Linked DNA regions of Homo sapiens: regions 1 and 3 are each linked to region 2. Evidence: promoter capture Hi-C in 16 types of primary human blood cells and fetal thymus (Javierre and others, 2016). All regions are on one chromosome and are shown on one strand. Each heading gives the region's core, a stretch centred on a gene start or on the middle of the fragment in contact. The rest is flanking DNA. Distances are from core to core; before and after follow the strand shown. Region 1 holds the start of TSHR (thyroid stimulating hormone receptor). Region 2 holds the start of FKBP3 (FKBP prolyl isomerase 3). Region 3 overlaps SEL1L (SEL1L adaptor subunit of SYVN1 ubiquitin ligase).

Region 1 (4,526 bases), core at 1,081-3,580, about 36 Mb before region 2:
TCCCTCTCCATTATTCTCAAGGGCAGATCCTCCTTGCCACTGTCTTTATGTCTTTTTCTTGTGATTCAGTGCCTTCCCTCAGACTATTCTCATCAGCATCATGTCATCACCTAGAAAGCACCTAGTTGAACATTCTCTTTTACCCAGAAGGAAATTTGGCTCCTTCCAAATCAGTCATCTTACACAATTTCATGGTTAGTAAAGAAGGGCTAAAGAGAATGCTGGTTTCCTGACTCCTGTTCCATTGCTCATTCTCCATTACCCTTTCTTTCTCAACTTTTGGTGGAATTTTAAACAGGATGTCTACGAGTTCCTTTTCACTGTCAGAGCCACATCTCTCTTCAATGACTTGAATTTCTGCCACTGTTAAAGAAGTCTCTGAAGAAGTGATGTCTTTGGATTTCTTTCTCCCCAACATAGAGTGGACATTCAGAGACCTGGCATATTCATTTGTTTATTTATTCACTTAAGTTTTTTTTTTTTTGTTTTTTCTGAGTGTCTAAGTAGTTCCAGGGTTTCAGGAATTCGGGGTTGAATGGCAGTTCCCTATGTTAGAGAAGCTTGTGTCCTGCTTGAGTGGGCATGCAAATAAATAACAAGTTACAAGAAAGTAGACAATGTCTAAGGGCTAGGGTTAGGTTCATGCAGAGAACGCTGTTGGGAAGGGGGGTATAGCTTACCCAGCCTGAAGGTCATGGGTCAGGAGAAGCTTCCTGCAGGGTTGATCCAGGATCTGGATCTGGGAGTAGGCATTAGCTGGGTGAAGAAATGGGTGAAATGTGCTTCAGGCAGAGGGGCCAGAAAGTGGGAAGAAAGGCAAGGGCAGCTGTAACAGCAGGGACCTTTGGGGAAGTGCCAGAAGTTCTCAGCAGGAGGGGGAAGTTAGAGAAATGAGGAGCAATGAGGTTGGAAAGACTTGACTAGGTCTTGAAAGATCTGGTAGGCTGCACAAAAGAATTTTATTCTAGAGGTGACAAGCAACCTATGTAGAGGTGTAATCAAGAGGCCATTACACCTTTTACACATCTTATTCTGTGGTGGCAGCATGGAGAATGACTACCACACTGTTTGGAGGTTATTGAACTAATTAATTCAGGTGTGCTAAGACACTAGGATATCTCTGAGCACAGAAATATATCTCTGTGCTCAAATATTCATCTACTGTTAAATAGTCTTCATGAGCTAAATTCTTGAGAAAATCTAGAGGTGCAACTTTCCCATTTCTTTTCATCTATCAACATTTTCTTTAATAACCTGCATTTTTTTTTATCTTAACTGGATTTAACCAGCCTAGGTTGTTTTACTGTCCTTTCTTTCTGTTCTCTTTTTAACTAATCAAGACAGACTTTATTCCCTTGGTTTTGTCTACAATTTCAATGATCACTGATTTAAATTGCTGTTAAGAAACAGGTTGTGTGTGTATAATCTTATTTAACATCAGGTTTCTAATCTGGTAACATTTAACATGCAGATAAATGTACTATACTTTTATGAAATTTCATTTCTTTATACCTCTATCACAAAGCAGGGTTCTGGACGTACTATTTCACTGGCAGTTCACATTTGAGTAAGTAACTTACAGATACTGTATAGACAGTTCATTTTAAAAAGGGCCCCTGCTTAAACCTTTGTCAACAATTTGATGAATCAGCAGAACTGCTAAGATAACCTCCCATCTAGAGAAACAAAAAGGAGAAATACATATTTTTGCAATTTTTTATTACCCAAGGTAAGATCAAAAAGGTCAGTTCCTGAGATGCCATTATCCTTATTAATTCAAATAAAACAGATTCAACCAGGGTTAGGCAAAGTGCTGAATAGCAGCTTGTTGGAAAGAACAGCTCTCACGGTCATTGTACACCAAAGTTTTGTAACATTTTCCTGTGTTGGGAATGAGGATGTCAACAATGATACCTTCCCAAGTGTGGGCGATTAAGTTTTTAGCACACACACACATCTACACACACAGACATTCACTCACACATACACACACTCACACACTACTTCGGGCTGTTATTGAGCTGCTTTTGTGCACTTCGGGCCACCTCTGCAGATGCCCTTGATCTCTGGGTCCTACCCTGATCTCTCCCGGGTACTCACAGAGTCTGCGTACTGGGCGGTAAGCTGGGGATGCGTTGAATATCCTTGCAGGTGACTCTGAAGTCCTCCTCCTGATGGCACTCGCAGGGTGGAGACGAACACCCCATTCCGCCCAGGTCCCTGGGCAGGTCGAGCAGCAGCACCAGCTGCAGCAAGTCCGCCGGCCTCATTTTCCACGGGACTCGGGGCTATTTCTCCATCCTCCGAAATCGCCTCATTCTCAGCTCTGCACCTCGGGTTACCCCAGGCCAAAGGAGACCCGGGAGCGGGAGGGGTGGGAAGAGGGAGGGCTCCAAGGGGCTGTGACCTCACCACTGTGGAGGAGGCTGGAGAAGGGGAAAAAGAGGCACTTAAGTGCTCCGCTTCCCTAGGCAACCTTGACCCAAACAAGTCTGCTTGCTTCACTTTCCTTGGCTGGACCCACGCAGTCCGCTCCGTCTGTTCCCTGACACCCAACACCAGTCCTGGCTGTCCCCTCTGTTTTCCAGCCCGCCCCCCCACCCCGGGCGCCCCTCCCATTAGTTCTCTCCAAAGCCTAGTTTAGATGCCCCCTCCTTTCCTCCTCTTTAAATCCAAGGAGCCACCTTCCCTAGCGTGTAGCCTTCTAGACACCCTGTCTGCCTGGGAGCCACTCGCACGCACTCCTTATCCAGAGAAAGTCCCCGCGGAGTGGACTGTCCGCGGGCGGACCAATGTCCTGCAGAACTTCAGCTCCTCCTGGCCAGAGACACCTCTGCTGAGGGTCAGAGGCGGGCACGCAGCCCTGGCTAGCCCGCGGTGCGGCCGAAGCCGTCGCCCTGCACCCCTGGAGGATTCTCGTTGCTATCCAACTGCAGGGGCCACTCCGGTGGTTGAGTCGACTGGCAGCGGCCGCCTCACGTTGCAGCCCGCGGCTCCGCGAGGCAATTCAGGAACTGAACTTTGGGGCCATCTGCTGGGAAGAATCGGGAATGGCAGAAATAATTCCAGGTTCCCTTAATAATGGGTCCAGTATGGAAATTCTGGTCGACCCAAGAATTTCATTGAGTCATATTCCCCCTGGAAGATGGGAAGAAAAATAATACTTAAGTGGCATACTCACCATTCTTCGCACAGTAGCCAAAAAGATCATTACAAACATAAATCAGATTGTGCCTATTTCCTTCTTAAAAGTCTTCAATCACTTATTCCTCTTGGGATAAAAGGAATGTCAATTCCTTCTATACTGCATAATTCCTTTTATATGAACTTGGCTAGGACAGGAAGGAAAAAGTTGTGGTTATGGGAATCAGAATAAAGGTTAGGAAAGATTGACTAGAAAAAGACAGGAGGGAACACACAGGGTTTCCATATCGTAATTAGGCTGGAGGTTAAGTGGATGTATACATTTATCAAAATTCATTAAACCGTACATTTAAAATATGTGTATTCCAAATTTTACAGAAGCTTTATTCATAACCACTAAACGAACCAAGTGTCTCGCGACTAGATAATGGATAAACAAACTCTGATACCTCCACATTGGAATACTATTCTGCAATAAAAATGAATGAACTGCTGATACAACATGCACAAATTTTCTTTTCTTTTTTTTTTTCTTTTGAAACGGAGTCTTGCTCCGTCGCCCAGGCTGGAGTGCAATGGCGCGATCTCGGCTCACTGCAACCTTTGCCTCCGAGGTTCAAGCAATTCTGCTGCCTCAGCCTCCCGAGTAGCTGGGACTACAGGCGCCCGCCACCACGCCCGGCTAATTTTTTCGTAATTTTAGTAGAGACGGGGTTTCACTGTGTTAGTCAGGCTGGTCTCGATCTCCTGACCTCGTGATCCGCCCGCCTCGGCCTCCCAAAGTGCTGGGATTACAGGCTTGAGCCACCGCACCCGGGCTTTTGTTGTTGTTTTTTTAAAAATTACCATGGTATTGTTATGGAACAAATCTTGAATGCATAATGTTAAGTGAAAAAAGCCAAACTCAAAATATTACGTATTTATATGTAATTATTCATATTAATGATTCATTTATATAGCTTTCTCAAAAAGGCAAAACCATAGGGACAGGAAAAAGATCAGCGGTTGCAAAGGCCTAGGGTAGGGCTGACTACAAATGAACACCAGAGAATTTTGTGGGTAATAAAACTGTTTTAAATCTTGTTCGTGGTGATGGTTCCATGGTAGTTTATTAATGTGGTGAATCATAGTGATCGATTTTCGAATGTTAAACCCACCTTGAATTGCAGGGATAAATCTCACTTGATCATGATGTATTTATCCTTTTTTTGTTTGTTTGTTTGAGACGGAGTCTCGCCCTGTCGCCCAGGCTGGAGTGCAATGGCACGATCTTGGCTCACTGCAACCTCCGCCTCCCGGGCTCAAGGGATTCTCCTGCCTCAGCCTCCAGAGTAGCTGGGATTACAGGCGCCCGCCACCACGCCCGGTTAATTTTTTGTGTC
Region 2 (4,760 bases), core at 80-2,579:
TTATTAAGGCGTTACTCTAAATATGGTCCCCGGTGCGGTTCCGGTGTTTTGTTTTAACAAACTCTAAATTTAAGTTCCGTTTCCAATGATTAGATGGCTGGGCGTCATTGCTAACGTGATAAATCACTTAAAATGTTATAATAGAGATTTATTGTAAAATATTACATACCCGGGGACAATGGAATAGCCACCAGTTTGGGAACTTAATGTTATTGAGCGTCTAACGTGCCTCATTCCTTGTACTTTTAAATCAGAATATAAAGTGAAAAGCAAAAATGTGTAGATGGAATAATTTGTCTTATATCTCTATCTGGGCTGAGAAAACAAAATGCCAAGTCTCTTTTTCACCGCGCTGGGAGTGGCAACCCATTATTTTAATATTTTCATTGTTTAAAGGGAAGTGAACGTGGTCTGGTCCAGCTATTCGTCAGAATTTTTTTTTTTAATGCTCCTTGCAAAGCAGAGCTAACTCATAGGCAACATGCCCAGAGTCAGCCTACATTTTTTTAAGTAAGGAGTCCTGATGTTCAACTATTAAATCTTTATTATAGGTAAGAGCATTATAATAAACGTCGGTGTGCAATTATTCCACTCTAACGAAGATTTCTGTCTCAAATAATTCCTGACTTCTCTCTAAACCTGACTTTGAGTAACCTCTGTAAATTTGTTTCCTCGTGTACTGAGAAAAAAATATACATCACAGAGTTACGAGCATTAATAATGTCATTCTCATCAGCAAGTGGCATCCTGAGTGCGGCTTCTTTATAAATTGTTTTATTTGTTAAAGTTTCTGAACTTCGTTTTGGACAAACTTTCTCGTATTTGTATGGGGGGAAGGGGATGGGCAGTTTGTATTTAAGTTTCGGTTGTGTGATCTTTAAAAGGGAAATGGTGGGATATGGGTTTTCGGATCGACAAGGACTGAAGCACTTCAGGTGTGACTTTTTAGGCTAGAACTAGATAAAACGAGATAAGGAGCCTGAATGCTGTTTTCTTTTAACAGGTTATAGACTGGACTTTAAAGGCATAGCTGCCTTAAATGTGGGTAATGGTTGATAAATGTCGCTACCATCAGAGGTCGCTTCACAAGGTGTCTAATTCAGAATCGAAGATCTCTAGCGGTCTTCTACTCAGTCGACTGCAGAGACGACCGCGGTAGGTTTTTCAACCCGGACTCAACAAAGAAGCCCTCATAGCACAGCCTTGACGTCACTCAAAGACAGGCCCCAATCCCGACTGCTAGAGCAGAGGCCCGCCCCTCGACCTCCGTGAGTGGCCCCGCCCCGCCCTAGGGGGCGGGGCGATGCCGAACTGCGGCGGGCTGGCTCAGTAAAGCGGAGGCAGCGGGGGAAGATGGCGGCGGCCGTTCCACAGCGGGCGTGGACCGTGGAGCAGCTGCGCAGTGAGCAGCTGCCCAAGAAGGACATTATCAAGTTTCTGCAGGAACACGGTTCAGATTCGGTACCAGAGGCGTAGGGGCGGCCGGGCTGGTGCGGCTGAGGGACGCCTCACCCCCCTGGAGATGCCCATACATTCCGTATTCCTCTGTGCCCCCGCCCTCGTCTTCCCGCGGCCGGTGGCCTGGAAGGCCGGAGAGGCCCAGCTTGTGCTTTGGTGCCTCGCTCCCGCCTCTCGGGCGTTCTCTACTGGGGCAGGGGAGCAGCTTTATTTCTTGGGGCACACAGGCTGCAATTGTAGAGTTAGAACCTCATTGGGATCCTTGAGTGGGGGTGGAGGCCAGAAAAATAGGAACCCGAGGATATTGGGGGCTAGGGCGGAGAGGCCGAGGAATAGTGGTGTGGATGAGACTCCTGGGAGCGGGGCGCCGGCTACTAGGGAAATGGGAAGGGATGTGAAGATTTCTGTGGGAACGGTGTATCCAACTTGCTTTTCTCAACAGTTTACTAAATACTGAACATTAATGCGTGTGATTTTTAAAAAATCCGTAGGTTGTGGTTTAAGTTTTGATTTAACATATCGACCCTTTAAATGACCTTTTCACCTTTATACTTTAAGGGAGCTACATGCACATTTCTCTTGTGCAGTGGTCTGTCATTGTTATAAACAGACTAAGAAATTTATTTGAAATGCTTTATACTGTAGGCTCTCCATTTGTCAGCATAGTCTCCATCTTAACCATCCGTCTATAGTCAAGTTATTTTTGTTACACTTGTTTTTCCTTTGGAAAATAAGTTCATTCATGCACCTGTTAAATTGCTGAAATAGTTGTGCACGCAGCATTCTCTTACAAGCGGCAGCCTGCTTGTGTTTTCTATACAATTTTTAAAATTCTAAACTTTTCATTTAGAAAAACTGTTTCTGGGTTTTTTTGTTTGTTTGTTTGAGACGGAGTCTCTCTCTGTTGCCCAGGCTGGAGTGCAGTGGCGCGATCTCGGCTCACTGCAACCTCCGCCTCCCGGGTTCAAACGATTCTCCTGCCTCTGCCTCTCGAGTAGCTAGGACTACAGGCGCGTGCCACCACGCCAGGTTAATTTTTTGTATTTTTAATAGAGACGGGATTTCACCGTGTTAGTCAGGATGGTCTCGATCTCCTGACCTCGTGATCCGCCCGCCTCGGCCTCCCAAAGTGCTGGGATTACAGGCGTGAGCCACTATTTCTGGGTTATTTTGAGAAGCTTATATTTTATTTTCATTTTGGGCGGGCGTCATGACAGGGAGATAGAAGAACTCTCCAACTTCCAGTGCCTTCTTCCTTAATTATTATCCTGGCATCCGCATCTTAGATTAATTTAGCAGATATTAATACAACATCTGTAACAAGAACTATTCTCAGTGTTTGGAGGTACAAGGGTGAAAAAGAACATGTGTCGGGGATCTTACCCCATTTTAATGGAACTATTTTCTCTTAAGCCAATTCGTATTTCATCTGAAACAATAGAATAGACATCATTAACATTTAATAATACCTCAGTCATGTACTTCATCCATCATATTCTTATGAAACAAATCATGCCATGTGGAATCGTATGTAAAACTGGGCCACGTGGAAGAATTTCAACAGACTTGGATTATCAAAATGTTTTTATAACATTAATCTTTTAAATGCATAGTCTCGGTCGGTCGTGGTGGCTCATTCCTGTAATCCTAGCACTTTCGGAGGCCAAAGCGGGCGGATCACGAGGTCAGGAGATCGAGACCATCCTGACTAACAGTTGAGGCCAGGCATTGAGGACCAGCCTGGCCAACGTAGCGAAACCTCATTTCTACTAAAAATACAAAAAAAATTAGCTGGGCCTGGTGGTGGGCGCCTCTAATCCCAGCTGTTCGGGAGGCTGAGGCAGGAGAATCGTTTCAACCCAAGAGGGGGAGGTTGCAGTGGGCCGAGATTGGGCCACTGCACTCCAGCCTGGGCGACAGAGCTAGACTCTGTCTCAAAAATTAATAATAATAATCTCCGGTGATCATTAACACTTAGACCTATACTTGACAATAATTATTTTATTAATCATAAGATATCAAAGAGATGTTTATGCTTTTATGCTTTGGGTATTTTCTGGAATCTTTAACAAGAAACCACCAGCATGCTAAAGGTAACTGATTACTTCCGTTTAGTCAACTTTGTCTCCTTTCCCCATCAGCTGTTATTTAGAACATATCTTTGAAAGAAAAAGCAAAAGAAAAAAATACAATAGTGATAGTGTTAGCTGTTAACTGCTAATAATGTTAACTGCTTTATCAAAAGCTTAGAAGATGCCAAAGGACAACTTTGAGAATGTAACAAAATTAGGAATTAAGCAAGGACCACAAGGCAGAAAAAGAAGCAGAATAAAATAAGGAAACAAAGAAGTTATGGAAATCCTCACAATTACGTGATTTTCAGATAAAGTTATACTACGACTTGCTATTTCAGCAGTAGTATTTTAGTGTCCATCTGCCATCTTAGCAGTCTTATATTTGAAAGAAAAGCAATTCCGCTGTTACCTTGAGTTATTAAATACAGTATTAATCATAATCCCAATATTTATTAAGTTCTTACTGTGTGACAGGCTCTATGCTAAATGCATTAAATGGATTTTTGCATTTTATCCTTATATCAACTCTTTGACGTAGACGCTGTTATTAATCTTCCACTACAGATATGGAGGCTGAGTCTTTAGACAAGCTTAGTCCCCTGTCTAGTGTCAGACAGCTAGGATTTTTTTTTTTTTTTTTTTTTTTTTGAGACAGAGTCTTGCTCTGTCACCTAGGCTGGAATGCAGTGGTGCGATCTCGGCTCACTGCAACCTCCACCTCCCAGGTTCACGCCATTCTCCTGCTTCAGCCTCCCGAGCTGGGACTACAGGCATGCGCCACCATGGCCAGCTAAATTTTGTATTTTTAGTAGAGATGGGGTTTTGTCACGTTGGCCAGGCTGGTCTCAAACTCCTGACCTCAGGTGATCCGCCTGCCTCAGCCTCCCAAAATGCTGAGATTACAGGCATGAGCCACCGCGCCCGGCCCACACAGCTAGGATTTTAACCTAGATAATATGACTCCACAGCCCATATACTTAGCAATTATATATATAATGTTAAGCATAGCAATCTCAACATATGTATGTTACATGCTTGTGTAACAGTGACTCTTCCTAGTCGGCTAAGAATGGGTTACAAATGCCTCAGGATAGCTATGTCCAACCTGGCTGGAGGCTCTCAAGGGCTGCACCCAAGTATCCTCCTGCAGTGAGCAGCTGACTCAAGTCACCACAGTGTGCTTGCTGTATAAATGTTATTTTTTGTGAGTGTTGACAGGAAAAAGTT
Region 3 (4,364 bases), core at 1,089-3,588, about 36 Mb before region 2:
GTTTCCCACGTTTTGGATCTTGCTGGTCATGAACTTGTAATGTCATTGAGCTTGTTCCATTATCTGCTGTTTATTCTATAAACTGGGAGTTAGTTCTAGAGACATGGGTAGATTTGGTTCTGTCTTTTTATTGAGAGTATTTCATAGGTAGGTGGTGGTGTGTACTTTCTGTTGCTTTACATTGAGAGACATGTAGTGTCTGATTTTTCCACTTTTACTGATGTTAAGATTAATTAGCGAGGTCAGGTGGTATCACCCTGATCTCACCATTCTAAAGTTCCTCATTAATCTTTTGCCTAGGGGTTTTGGCAACCATTTATGTTTGTTGCCTGGATCTTTTAATTATTAGGGGTTGCAAAATGGTGACTTTCTAATTCTACCATTCCTCCTGCATTTGTTACCTGGGATTCTTTTATAAAGAATTTTCTCTCATCAAGTCTTTGATTACCCTGAAATATAGTCTCATCCAGAGAAAGCTAGATAAATTCTTATTTCCTTTGCACTGTTGTGAAATGAAAATTTGGTGCCCAAGCAATCTCTGAAAGAGACTAATGAGTATGTTTTTGTTTGTTTGTATTTGTTTTGTTTTGCTTTGTATTTGAGCATTGTAAGGATATAGTAAAAACCAAACCAAGGTGTGTTTTTCTTTCTCTTTCTCACTGAGTTAACACTTCTGACACCAGATATGTTGTGGGTATTTCCCCACATACCAAGTAAGCAATCAGTTCTGCAGAGGATTCTCCATCAGAGACCAGCAGGATGTCTGCTGATTTAATTCAATTCTGACACTACCTGGAGATAGCATTAGATCTCACAAGTTTAGGGCTCAGTCTCACAAGACCAGTCCCCGCTACTTGAGATGCCAATCATAAGCCCCGGGTTGTCTGTGCTTCTGACAGACTGGCTATAAATCAGGGTTCCCACAACCCCCTTCTTGGGTTCAATTAATTTGCTAGCACTTAGGACTCTGGGAAGCATGATAAATGGGTAAATGTAAATATAAATTTACATTTATTATAAAGGATATTACAAAGGATAGAGACGAAAAGCCAGATGGAAGAGAGGTGTAGGGCAAGGTATGGGAGAAGGACTGCAGAGCTTCCATGCCCACTCTGATCTGATCACGCCACCCACCTTCCAGGAATCTCCATGTGCTCAGCTTTCCAGAAACTCCCAGAACTCAGCTATTTTGGGTTTTTATGGAAGCTTTGTTATGCAGGCATAATTGATTAAATCATTGCGCGTTGATTTATTGGCTCAACTTTTAGCTCCTCTGCCCTTCTGAGGTTGGGGGATGGGACTGTAAATTCTAACCCTCTAATCTAATCTAATGGTTGGTTTCCCTGGCAACCAAGTCCTATCCCAAGGCTCTCTAGGAACCTCCAGCCACCAATTTTCTCATTATCATACAGAAGACATTCTTATCACTCAAGAGATTTCAGGGATTTTAAGAGCTATGTTTCTGGAAACGGATGAAGATCAAATATTTTTTTCACAATATCACAAGCATCATTATGAATTCATGGATTCTTACATACATGTCAGCCCTCTGTATCCATGGATTCAACCAAATATTTGAAAATATTTGGAAAAAATGGGTGGTTGCAACTGTACTGAACATGTCCACACTTTTTGTTCTTGTCATTATTCCCTGAACAATGTAGCGTAACTATTTACATAGCATTTCCATTATATTAGGTATTAGAAGTAGTCTAGGGATGATGTAAAACAGGAGGATTGCGTAGGTTATATGCAAGTACTACGTCATTTTATCTAAACAACTTGAGCACTCATGGATTTTGGTACCACCAGGCCAGGTCCTGGACCCAGTCCTCCAGTGATACTGAGGGACAGTCATGTGTCACTTAACAATGGGGATGCATTCTGAGAAATGCATCACTAGTTAATTTTATCGTTGTGCAAATATAGAGTGTACTTACACGAACCTAGCTAGTGTAGCCTATACCTCGGCTATATGTTATAGCCTATTGCTACTAGGCTACAAACTTCTACAGCTTGTTATTGTATTGAATACCGTACTCAGCTGTAACACAGTGGTAATTATGTGTATATCTAAACCTATCTAAACATAGAAAAAGCACATAAAAATATGGTATAAAAGATTTTTAAATGGTACGCTTGTCTAGGGCACTTCCCATGAATGGAACTTGCAGGACTGGAAGTTGCTGTGGGTGAGTCTGTGAGTGAGTGGTTAGTGCTGAGTGAATGTGAAGGCCTGGGACATTGCTGTACACCACTGTAAACTTTTATAAACAAGTACACTTAGGCTGCACTAAATTTATTTTCAAAATTTTTTTTCAATAGTAAATTAACCTTCGTTTATGGTAACTTTTTTAGTTTATAAACTTTTATGTTTTAGCTTTTCAACTATTTTGTAGTAACACTTAGCTTAAAATACAAACACATTGTAGAGCTATACAAAAATATTTTCTTTATATATTATCCTTATTCTATAAGCTGTTTTCTATTTTTAAATTTTTTTTTAACTTTTTAAACGTTTTTGTTAAAAACTAAGACAAACATACACATTAGCCTACGCCTACACAGGGTCAGGATCATCAATATCACTGTCTTCCACCTCCACATCTTGTCCCATTGGAAGGTCTTCAGGGCCATTAACAGGCATGGAACTGTCATCTCCTATGATAACGATGCCTGTACTTCCTGAAGGACACACCTAATGCTGTTTTACAGTTAACTTTTTTTTTTAATAAGTAGGAGTACATGCTAAAGTAAGGATGAAAAGTATAGTAAATATGTAGACCAGTAACATAGTTGTTTGTTATCACTATCAAGTGTTATGTACCGTACGTAATTGTATTACTATACTTTTATACAACTGGAAGTGCAGTAGGTTTATTCACACTAGTTTCACTACAAAAACATGAGTAATGGATTGTGCTACAGTGTTGTAATGACTAGGACATCACTAGGTGATAGGAATTTGTCAGCGATATAATCTTATGGGACCACCATGGTATACACAGTCTGTCATTGGCCAAGAAGTTATGATGTGTCACATGATCATATTTTTGTTCATTGCAATCATTCTTTTTTGTTGATTGCTCAGAATTTTCCTTTTTTGGCCATTGGTAATCATTCCTTTGTCTTTTTGACTAGATCCTGGTGATCTTTCGTAACTTTTTTTTTCCAGGCAGAACAAGGATGTCCTAAACTTATTTTGTACATTTCTTGACCCAGAAATGAAAGTCAGCTATTTCTCCAAGGAACCCAGATTGCTTTTGGTGGGTTAGATAATATAAGCACCAGTGATCTGCATTGCTAAATTTTCATTACTTATAGGCCTTTTTGGTGCATTGGGTTAGGAAATGTATCTTTCATACCGATAACTTCTAGTTCAAATTAAATATTACAGGCAAGATAACAAAAATCAGATTGACAAATTGAACTTACAAGAATCAGAGATCCTAACCTAGTATCAAGCTTGGCAAATATTTTCAAAGATAAAATTATCATAAGACGTGAGCGGGGTGTAGAGAAGTCTGTGACTGCCAGAGCTGCTCTCGGGTCGTTTCTTTCCTCAATTAGACTGTGCTCCAGCCCAGAGTTCAACACTCAAGGCCTCTAAGTAATGCCTGTAGAGTGTCAATTCCACGAAAGAAAGCTGTTTCCGACATGAGACATCACTGGTTTCTTCTTTGATAATTACATAGTGTATGTGATATTTTCTAGAGAGTCATGCCTACATACATCCCAGGTTTTTGTATAATGAGCAATGTAGACAGATCAAGTTCATCCTGCTGAAGCATTTCATAAGCAAGGACTCTTCCAATAGTAAATACCTTCAGTGTGTTTGCCAGAGGTCTCTCTTTACCATATTTCTAAGGTGATTTGATGATGCTTGGAGAGAGGTATCTGCTCACTCTGTTTTGGGCCAGTGAGAAGAAAGAACAGACTACAGGTCTGCTGCGAGCCCTTTCCACCTTATCAGAGTTTTTGCTTCTTTTGTGTTATCTCCTTTCACTGGTGCTGAAAATCTTAGTACCTAATGACATTAATGTTATTTTGTTTTATCATAATAAATATGCATATATAGTTTCAAAATAACAGTGGCCCTTACCACTAACTGTGGGACCACAGAATGCAGCCCAAGATTCCTTTATGGTCCTTCTTATTCTTGGTATATATTTTGCTAGGGACTTGTAATAATACAGTGTTTTAAAATCACTAATAATTCTCTGGTTATATCAACAACTTTATAAACATTTAGATTAATTTGTACCAGTTTTCACTTTTCAATAATGATTTAGATTTGTTTTTAATTTATTCTTAATATATGAAAATGCTTAAGTACTTATGCATATATATGACATAAATTGCAT

What was found. The method cuts DNA at HindIII sites, captures the fragments that hold promoters and counts their contacts. A CHiCAGO score of 5 or more calls a contact.
Region 1: the fragment with the promoter of TSHR here is called in contact with the fragment with the promoter of FKBP3 in region 2 in 2 of 17 cell types (total B cells and non-activated CD4 T cells); the score reaches 5.7 in total B cells.
Region 3: a contact is called between a fragment that was not itself captured here and the fragment with the promoter of FKBP3 in region 2, in 1 of 17 cell types (non-activated CD4 T cells). The highest score is 5.3, in non-activated CD4 T cells.

The regions. Positions count from the first base shown.
Region 1 is chr14:80,953,425-80,957,950 of GRCh38, reverse strand. TSHR (thyroid stimulating hormone receptor) reads right to left here and starts at 2,330. Exons shown (of 10, transcript NM_000369.5): 1 at 2,101-2,330. The coding sequence starts at 2,270. It also overlaps a transcript of CEP128 not described here. The HindIII fragment of the contact is 2,816 bases long and covers 712-3,527 here.
Region 2 is chr14:45,131,050-45,135,809 of GRCh38, reverse strand. FKBP3 (FKBP prolyl isomerase 3) reads left to right here and starts at 1,329. Exons shown (of 7, transcript NM_002013.4): 1 at 1,329-1,461. The coding sequence starts at 1,354. RefSeq lists enhancers at 389-1,259, 1,353-1,572, 1,260-2,131 and a silencer at 1,206-1,383. The HindIII fragment of the contact is 3,907 bases long and covers 1-2,638 here.
Region 3 is chr14:81,520,161-81,524,524 of GRCh38, reverse strand. All of the region lies in intron 3 of SEL1L (SEL1L adaptor subunit of SYVN1 ubiquitin ligase), which reads left to right. Among named protein-coding and RNA genes, the nearest start is that of SEL1L, 12 kb to the left of the region's middle. The HindIII fragment of the contact is 2,259 bases long and covers 1,209-3,467 here.